Linked DNA regions of Homo sapiens: region 1 is linked to region 2. Evidence: promoter capture Hi-C in 16 types of primary human blood cells and fetal thymus (Javierre and others, 2016). All regions are on one chromosome and are shown on one strand. The core of a region is centred on a gene start or on the middle of the fragment in contact, and the rest is flanking DNA. Distances in the headings are between cores, read along the strand shown.

Evidence for each region. The method cuts DNA at HindIII sites, captures the fragments that hold promoters and counts their contacts. A CHiCAGO score of 5 or more calls a contact.
Region 1: a contact is called between the fragment with the promoter of PPIG here and the fragment with the promoter of TTC21B in region 2, in 2 of 17 cell types (non-activated CD4 T cells and total CD4 T cells). The highest score is 7.6, in non-activated CD4 T cells.

What each region holds. Positions count from the first base shown.
Region 1 is chr2:169,582,823-169,586,919 of GRCh38, forward strand. PPIG (peptidylprolyl isomerase G) reads left to right here and starts at 1,529. Exons shown (of 14, transcript NM_004792.3): 1 at 1,529-1,668. RefSeq lists an enhancer at 1,445-1,494. The HindIII fragment of the contact is 789 bases long and covers 1,254-2,042 here.
Region 2 is chr2:165,952,103-165,956,137 of GRCh38, forward strand. It overlaps TTC21B (tetratricopeptide repeat domain 21B), which reads right to left and starts at 1,674. Exons shown (of 29, transcript NM_024753.5): 1 at 1,583-1,674. The coding sequence starts at 1,603. RefSeq lists a silencer at 1,525-1,924 and an enhancer at 1,689-2,438. The HindIII fragment of the contact is 9,565 bases long and covers 1,289-4,035 here.

The DNA of each region.
Region 1 (4,097 bases), core at 279-2,778, 3.6 Mb after region 2:
TTAGGTTGACTCCATGTCTTCGCTATTGTGAATAGTGTGGCAATGAACATACATATGTGTATGTCTTTATAACAGAACAACTTATATTCCTTTGGGTATATACCCAGTAATGTGATTGCTGGGTCAAATGGTATTTCTGCCTCTAGGTCTTTGAGGAATCGCCACGCTGTCTTCCACAATAGTTGAATTCATTTAAACTCCCACCAGCACTGTAAAATGTTCCTTTTTCTCCACAACCTCACCAGCACCTGTTATTTTTTGACTTTTTAATAATAGCCATTCTGACTGGTATGAGATAGTATCTCACTGCGGTTTTGATTTGCATTTTTCTGATGATTGGTGGTGTTGAGCTTTTTCATTATGATTGTTGGCTGCAAGTATGTCTTCTTTCGAAAAGCGTTGGCCGGGCGTGGTGGCTCACACCTGTAATCCCGGCACTTTGGGAGGCCAAGGAGGACGGATCACCTGAGGTTGGGAGTTTGAGACCAGCCTGACCTACATGGAGAAACCCTGTCTCTACTAAAAATACAAAAAATTAGCCAGGCCAGTCTGTGGCCCAGGGGTTGGGGACCCCTGTTTTAAGGTATTGCAGAATTGTCCCCTCCACACACAGCGAAGTGTAAATCCGTTTAATCTCTGAACTATCTAAAGATGAATATGCTGCTGCTCTCCTGCAATAAAGGGCAATGACTTAAAAGAGGTGGGGGTGGAGAGGCAGAAATGTCCTCTGTTTTACTGCTGTGTAAAACTGGTCACGCCCCTTAGAAGCACCACCACATGCCTAACTGTTGTTGATAATTAATTTACCTGATGCAAGTGAGTGAAAAATTTAAATGATCATAATTTACGTTGCCTTTAAACGACAGAACAATTTAAGTCCTCTAGTTAGCTAGTTCCTTTAAAACACACCCCACATCCCTACCAGAATCACTGCCCATCCCCCCCCACCCCCCCGCCCAAACAGCAATGGTTATTTATTTCTAACATAATCCGGGGACCCTTGCCCCTTAAAATAATTAAATAATATATGCCATATTTTCTCTAGAAGGCACTAGATTTGGCATCAAAAGACTTGCTTTGGCATTCAAGAACAGTGTGTTTGAGGAGGAGGCGTTTATCTTCCCTGAGCCTCAATTTCTTTATCTGTAAAACAACAAAGAACATCAAAGCTCTTTGTAATTTCTTCCTCTTTCCTCAAATAACACTTTGCTCATTACTGCGTTTTTAGAACTTATATCCTAGCGTTAAGTGGAAGCTTAACTGGAAGCTCCATGAAGGTAGGCCTTCCTTTCTGATAACCTAGCGTAAGATCAATAAATGTTTATTAAATGAGGCACTTTACTTCACAAAGGATATGGCATTTTAACGGTTACAAGCGTTCCCAGTCAACGCATCCACAAAGCATTAGGCCACCTATAAACTAGGAATTTAAAAGGCACCAAAATCCTAGAAGTCCTAGGAGGGCGTGGTGACGCAAGCAGGTGAACGCTGGCCGATGCTGACAACCCACTCCTGACGCGCTTCCGGTGCGACGCTGTCTCTCCATGCCAGGACTGAGTTGTGGGGGAGGGAGGCGGTTAGCGGGCTTTAGCGCCTTTTCTGGCGGCGGTAGATTTGAAGCGCTTCAAAGGACCGGACCCAGAGAAGAGGAAAACTCTACCGGTGCAGGTAAGTGGTATGAGGCTCAAGTTGTTCTGGCGGCGTCATTTCAGCAGTCCCTGCGTACGAAAGCGGGAAGGGCCTGGGAAGAGGGGCGGAGCCGGCGCGGCTGACCGGGTTGGGTTTACCGTCTTTCCCTCGAGGTATCGGGGCTGCTTGGGCCCAGAGGAAGTCCCTGAGGACCGCAGCAGTGCCTTTGCCGCTGTTGCAGAAGGAGAAGGCTTGCAGTCGAGCCCCGGGGCCTGGGGACGGTCCTTCCTCTGCCAGCCCCCGCCCTCCCCACTCAGGCGCACACCTCCCTCACTGACGCATTTTGCCGCACAAGCTGTAACATGGCGGCAGCGACTGCGGCCTGAACTCTAGGGAGCCGGGTTGATTTTTAAAGCTTCAAAATCCTAAGACTCAGCACTGTTGCGGGGTAGGTGGCGGGACTGGTGGGGAAGGGGGAGACAGCCTGACGTCCTGTCAGGCTAGGGTTGGAGAGTGACGGGCGAAGAGCCTGAATCACAGGGATTAAAATTGAAGACTAGCTTTCCTCCTCTTTCGACCTTTTCCTCTCACAGCACAGTGGCTGTCGTGCAGTTAAGTGGCAGAGGCCACTTTGTTAAGCATTTTTCTAAAACTCAAGTCCAGGGTCTTGAGCTCTCGCGAAGTTCCCCCGTGTTTCGGAGGAGCTGTGAGCTGCGCAGGCCTTTTAGGAGGAGATAATTACTCTTTAGGAGGAAGATGATGATTTCGGGGCTCAGTATGCCTGAAGGGGAAGTATGCTAATTTGGTTCTTGGTTAGTCTTTTTTTTTGAGACGGAGTCTCGCTCTGTCGCCTAGGCTGGAATGCAGTGGCGCGATCTTGGCTCACTGCAACCTCCGCCTCCTGGGTTCAAGTGATTCTTCTGCCTCAGCCTCCCAAGTAGCTGGGACTACAGGCACGTGCCACCATGCCCGGCTAATTTTTTGTGTTTTTAGTAGAGACGGGTTTTCACCGTGTTAGCCAGGATGGTCGATCTCCTGACCTCGTGATCCGCCCACCTCGGCCTCCCAAAGTGCTGGGATTACAGGCGAGAGCCACCGCGCACGGCCAGCTCATGTTTAGTCTTAAGGAGCAAAGTCTAGATGTGCTGGCAAGGAGTATGCACAATCGTTTTGGAAATGCTATAAAAGCACCATTTTGTGCATTGATTTTAATTTCTTTCCACGATAGCCCTTTCTGTGTGTAACCAACATTTTGCAGTAGTGAACACAAATACAAAAGTATTTGCTTTTATAGTTTGGTACTAACATAGTTGTCCAAAGAACAATTAGATGTTTTAGAAATTAGGGGGGCCTGATATTAACTTTCAGTAGTTAAAACCAGGAAAAAAGAGTGAGTGTGTGTGTGTGTCGGTCACACACACGTTTTTGTCTTTGTGTATTCCCATTTGGTAACAGGATGGCCGGTAATTGCTACTTTGTAACAATGACGGGTGGGGGGGTGAACATTTTATAAATTTTGAAATCGTGCTATAAAATCCAGAAAAGATACATTTAGAATGGCTGCTTCTCTCCTGTTTTTAATATATCCTGAAAATTTACCCGTTTTAGCACTCCCCTTTTTTTTATGTTAACGAGTTGGGACAGAATTATTTCTGTAACAAATTACATGGTTCTGTGTCTTAAACAAGAGTTCATTGTACATTGTTTGACTATTTCTTTATGATTCAGAATTATTGATGCTCTGAGATCCTATAGGGTCTTGTAGTAGGATTCTGCGCATTTGAATTGTTGGTTTCCTTTTTAAGGCTTTTCTAGGCAGTCAGTTGTCAGGAGTGCTCCTGCTGTCAGGAGTGTATAAGTATGTAAACTTCTTAGGTTAGAAAAATTTGGACTTTCTGGCCCAATTATCTTTCTGAGCTTCAGTTTCTTCACCTACCTGCAAAATGACATTTTGATCTCCACCTTCCATCAACTGTGGGCTTGAAAATTAAATACTCAGCTTTGTTAAAATTGTGTGTGAAGTTGGCTTTCATTAACTCAGTGGTTCCTTTATGGGTGAAGAGTGTTCATTACATTTATTTTTAACCATATAGTCGATTTACTGTGGTGCTTATTATTGTGGTCTTGCAGTATTGGTGACTTCTACATATTTTTGATATTTTGCCTTAAATTAGATTTTCTGTGAGGCAGCATCCTCTTCTTTATACAAAGGGAAAGTGGAAGCCATTCATAATAAAGTACTTCTGTTAGGACACTATCTGGGGTTAATTCTTTAAATAGTAGTTGCCCCTTTAGTTAGGCTTTTTTCCTTCCTATTAGTTTATAAATAGAGTATTTAAACATAATTATAACATGTTGTCTATTTTTAGAATCCCAGTGTACTAAGATGTCATGAAGGAATACATAGATAATTAATGCAAGTGACCTGAAGAGTTTGTTGCAAGTCTTTCTGTTGCATTGTGGCATTG
Region 2 (4,035 bases), core at 424-2,923:
GCAGTGGTGATGAAGATGACTAAAAGCCACTCCATACTCTAGAGCAGGGTTTGGCAAACCACACTCTGTGGGCCATATCTGGCTGGCTGGCTGTACAGCCAGTGAACTAAGAATGGTTTTTATATTTTCCAGCTGTCAAGGAAAAAAAAGAAATATTTCATAACATGAAAATTACATGAAAGTCAAATTTCAGTGTTCATAAATAAAGTTTTATTGAAACACAGCCATGCTCATTTAAGTATTGTCTATGGCTGTTTTGAACAAGCCAATTAGATGTGATAGACCATACGGTCCATAAAGTCTAAAATGTGTACTATCTGGCCCTTTGTTGAGAAAGTTTGCTATTCTCTGCTCTGGAGGCTTAAGTGAGACAGAGAGTATTGGATGATGAGGTTGGAGACGAAGGTGGGGTGAAAAGCCTCATATTAAGTACTTGGACTTGAACCTCAAGTCTAAGTAATGAGGAGGCCCATTTTTACATTTTACATTAAAGTGTTTTTATTAAAATGTTCATTTGGGTGGCAGTGCAAATAATACATTTAAGGGAATAAAAAAATGTAAGGATATAGGGGGATAGCTAGAACAGAGGATAATGTAAAACTTCAGGCAGAAAAACAAGACATTTCAGCATTCCCTAACCTCCTACATCGCCAAATTGTCCTCCATCCACTTATCACCATCTCACAGGATACACATTTCATTTACCTACTTGTTGTCTGACTCCTCCTACTCAAATGTAAGCTCCAAGATTGGAAGAGTTTTTCTTGGTTTTATTATTTCAGTGCTTAGAACAGTGCTAGACACATAGGAGGCATTCAGTAAATATTTGTTGAGTCAACTGAATTAGGGTTTTTCCCCAGCATTAATTAGCCTGTAAAATCTGAGAAGGCAGAAACTGTTCAGTTTTGCTCACTGCTATCTCCAGCTTCTAATGGACATACAGTAACCCTTCATAAATATTTGCTGAACGAGTGATTCAGTGAACAAATGAATAGAGAAGACCAACATCCGAAAAGTTATTTTATTTTCAAGCCTCATGTCTTTAACTGTTTTATATCAGCCTTTCTTAAGTTGACCGTCATTAATATTTGCTGAATGAATGAGTCAGTGATAAACAGAGAAGACCATCACCCTAAAATAACGACCCCTCCACTTTTAAGTCTTACGTCTTTAATGGGTTTCATATAATCTTTCTGCGCTCTTTTTACTGTCCAGTGTGGGAGCTGACACTAGTTTGCCTTAAGTCCTTAAAAATCGCACCCGGAGGCGCAGTGTCATAGGTAACCCAAGCTTTCCTAGTAAACATGATACAAAAGTAAACACAACCAACAGCATGGGGACCAGCAATTCAGAAACACCGAGCGGGCGGGCTGCCCAGACCTGGGCTTCCCCAGCAGGGCCCGCGGAGACCGGCCGTGAGCAGAGGCTGCAGGCCCACCCCGCAACCCGAGCAGCCGGGGCACCGCAGGGAAACAGCGGCCTAGCGAAGCCACCCGAGCTCCCTCCGCGCCCCCGGGCCAAAAGGCCGCAAAGGAACTCCGCCCGCCCGCCCGCTCACCCGCTCACCCGCTCACCCGCTCACCTTCAATTCCTGCGAGTCCATGGCTGCCCCGAGGCCGGGCCGCGGGGCTCTGGGGATTGTCTCGCCGCAGCCTAAAGGAAGACGCAGAATTCAGCTCCCCTAGCCTCCCGGAGCGCTCTAGCGCCCCGGGCCCCAGCGGGAGGGGCGGGGTCGCGCCGCGATTGGCTGTCGGAGGGAGAGGCGGGCCTGTGTGGCGGGGATCGTGCTGTAATGGAGCAGGGGCGGCGGGGACCCGGAGGTGAGGGCTGCGAGGGCCGCCCGGGAGGGTCCGGGCTGGGAAAAGGGCCTCCGCCGGAGAGTGCAGCTGGAAAAGGAGGTCACACTGGGAAACGGCTGTCTGAGGACAGTGGGTGGGCGGGCCGAGGAAATGGAATTCAGGAATAAAGGAAACGGAGTATGAAGAAGGGGAAGTCTGTTTCCTGTCACTGGTTGTAAAGGAAGACACCATTTTCTGCACGTTTGTCTGGAGGCGGATTCCCGCAGTGCGGCTCTCAGCAAGGCTCTGCCGGCGCGGGAAAAAGCGGTCAACTTTCACGTGGGCAAGTTGTTTTACGGCCACAAGGTGGCGCAGAAAAAAAAAATCACACGTTCTTAACAGAAATACGGTGCGCTTGGGCCCGTCTTTGCAGGCGTTGCTGCAATCTTTGTTAGAATGTGTGTTCAATTAGCCCTTTTTTACCAGCCCCGATAATAAGAGGGACAAATAAATTAAACTTCCAGAAAATTAGTGTCTTGTTTTCAATGATACTACTGATTTTAAACTGAGAATAAAATGAATCCCAATGCAAATTTTTATGTTTGCACCCCATTAGGCAACTCAATCAGTCACACATAGATTTCTTAAGTCCAGGAAATTAAATGGAAATATAATAGACTAAGATTTTCTATTTCTGCTTAAATAAATATTTAAAATAGTGCATAAGGTCTGAGATTTAAGTGATCTTTGCAGAATCTTTCACGTGGATTCCAAATTTTGATCCTAGTGTTAATTATCTTACTTTAGTTGACATGATACGTAGTTGCCTTTTCCAGATTTTAAGTTTCTTAAGGAGTTTATAAACATTGACTTTTTCCCCATGCCAATAGGTTATGTAAGGACAGTCTTGAGAAAAACGGTAGCTACCATCCTAGGCTTTAAGGTGAAGCAATATTTCTCACCGGTTTCTCTTTAAAGGAATTCACCACGTATTTTCACGAGCAACTTTTTTTTCTTTCCAATATTTATAGTCCAGCTAAATGTCTGTGGTGATGAACAACTGGTGATATCTCTTTGATTTTCAAAGCTGCGGATTAATCCGCACTTGGTATACAGCAAAGAATACCACAGGACCAGGGTGCTCAATGAAGTGTATAATCTTGAACTGTAAACCTTTGGTTATAAGAGAAAAGTTCATCTGTAAGGAAATATCTCAGGATCATGGTTAACAGAACAGATGATCAACCTACCTTTTGGAGATCTTGAAAGTCATATTAATTTAGCCTCGTATTCTCTTCACTGAATTCTGTTCTAAGGTTGAATTATTTAGCACAAAACACCAAGCCTGATGTTTCATAAATGTTTGTTGGATTAAAAGTACTCTGAGATTTGCTTTGACACTCACGGTGACTTGGTGTGCCCTGTGCCCTTACTAGATCTCATGTAAGAAATTTATTTTGGATCTCAGGCCAGGAAAAACTCTTGTCTTTCCTGAAAAATCGATGTGTTCCTTAGCAGTAACATTTTTATCGGCTCACTTTTACTAGCTACAAACTTTTGAGTCTGATATCCATGACCCTTCACCTCATCGTCTTTTCAAGCCTTATCTTCTACCTCCCCTTCAAGGAGCCTTTATTCCGCTCAGTGGGACAAATATTCCTTCTTCTGGTAATGCTTTCCCCTACTTTGTTTTGAGCTCTTTCTTCACCTGAGAAAATCTCCTTCTTCTGAGTTCATTTCAAATTTCATGAAGTCTTTAAGGATCACCATAACTGGATGGGTATAAAAATATCACAGTGTAGTGGCAAGAATACCCTCTTCTGCATCTGAGGTGGAGCTCCTATTACGCTAGCTACTTTTGTGACTTGGGGAAGTAATTTCCCTAAGCCTCATTTTCCTTATTTACTAAAGAAACTAAATGCCTTACAGACATATTAAAACTTCCTGACACATAATAGGCATTGTATAACCAATAGTTTCCATTAAACACGTAGTGCTCTATAGCAGTGGTCCCCAATCATTTTGGCACCAGGGACCAGTTTGGTGGAAGACAATTCACAGAAGATAAATTTTCCATGGACAGGGGTAGGGGAGATGGTTTCGGGTTGAAACTATTCCATCTCAGATCATCAGATTCTTATCTAAGGAGCATACAGCCTAGATCCTTCACATGCACAGTTTATAATGGGGTTTGCATTCGTATGAGAATCTAATGCCTCGCTGATCTGACAAGGAGGTGGAGCTTGGGGTAACGCTC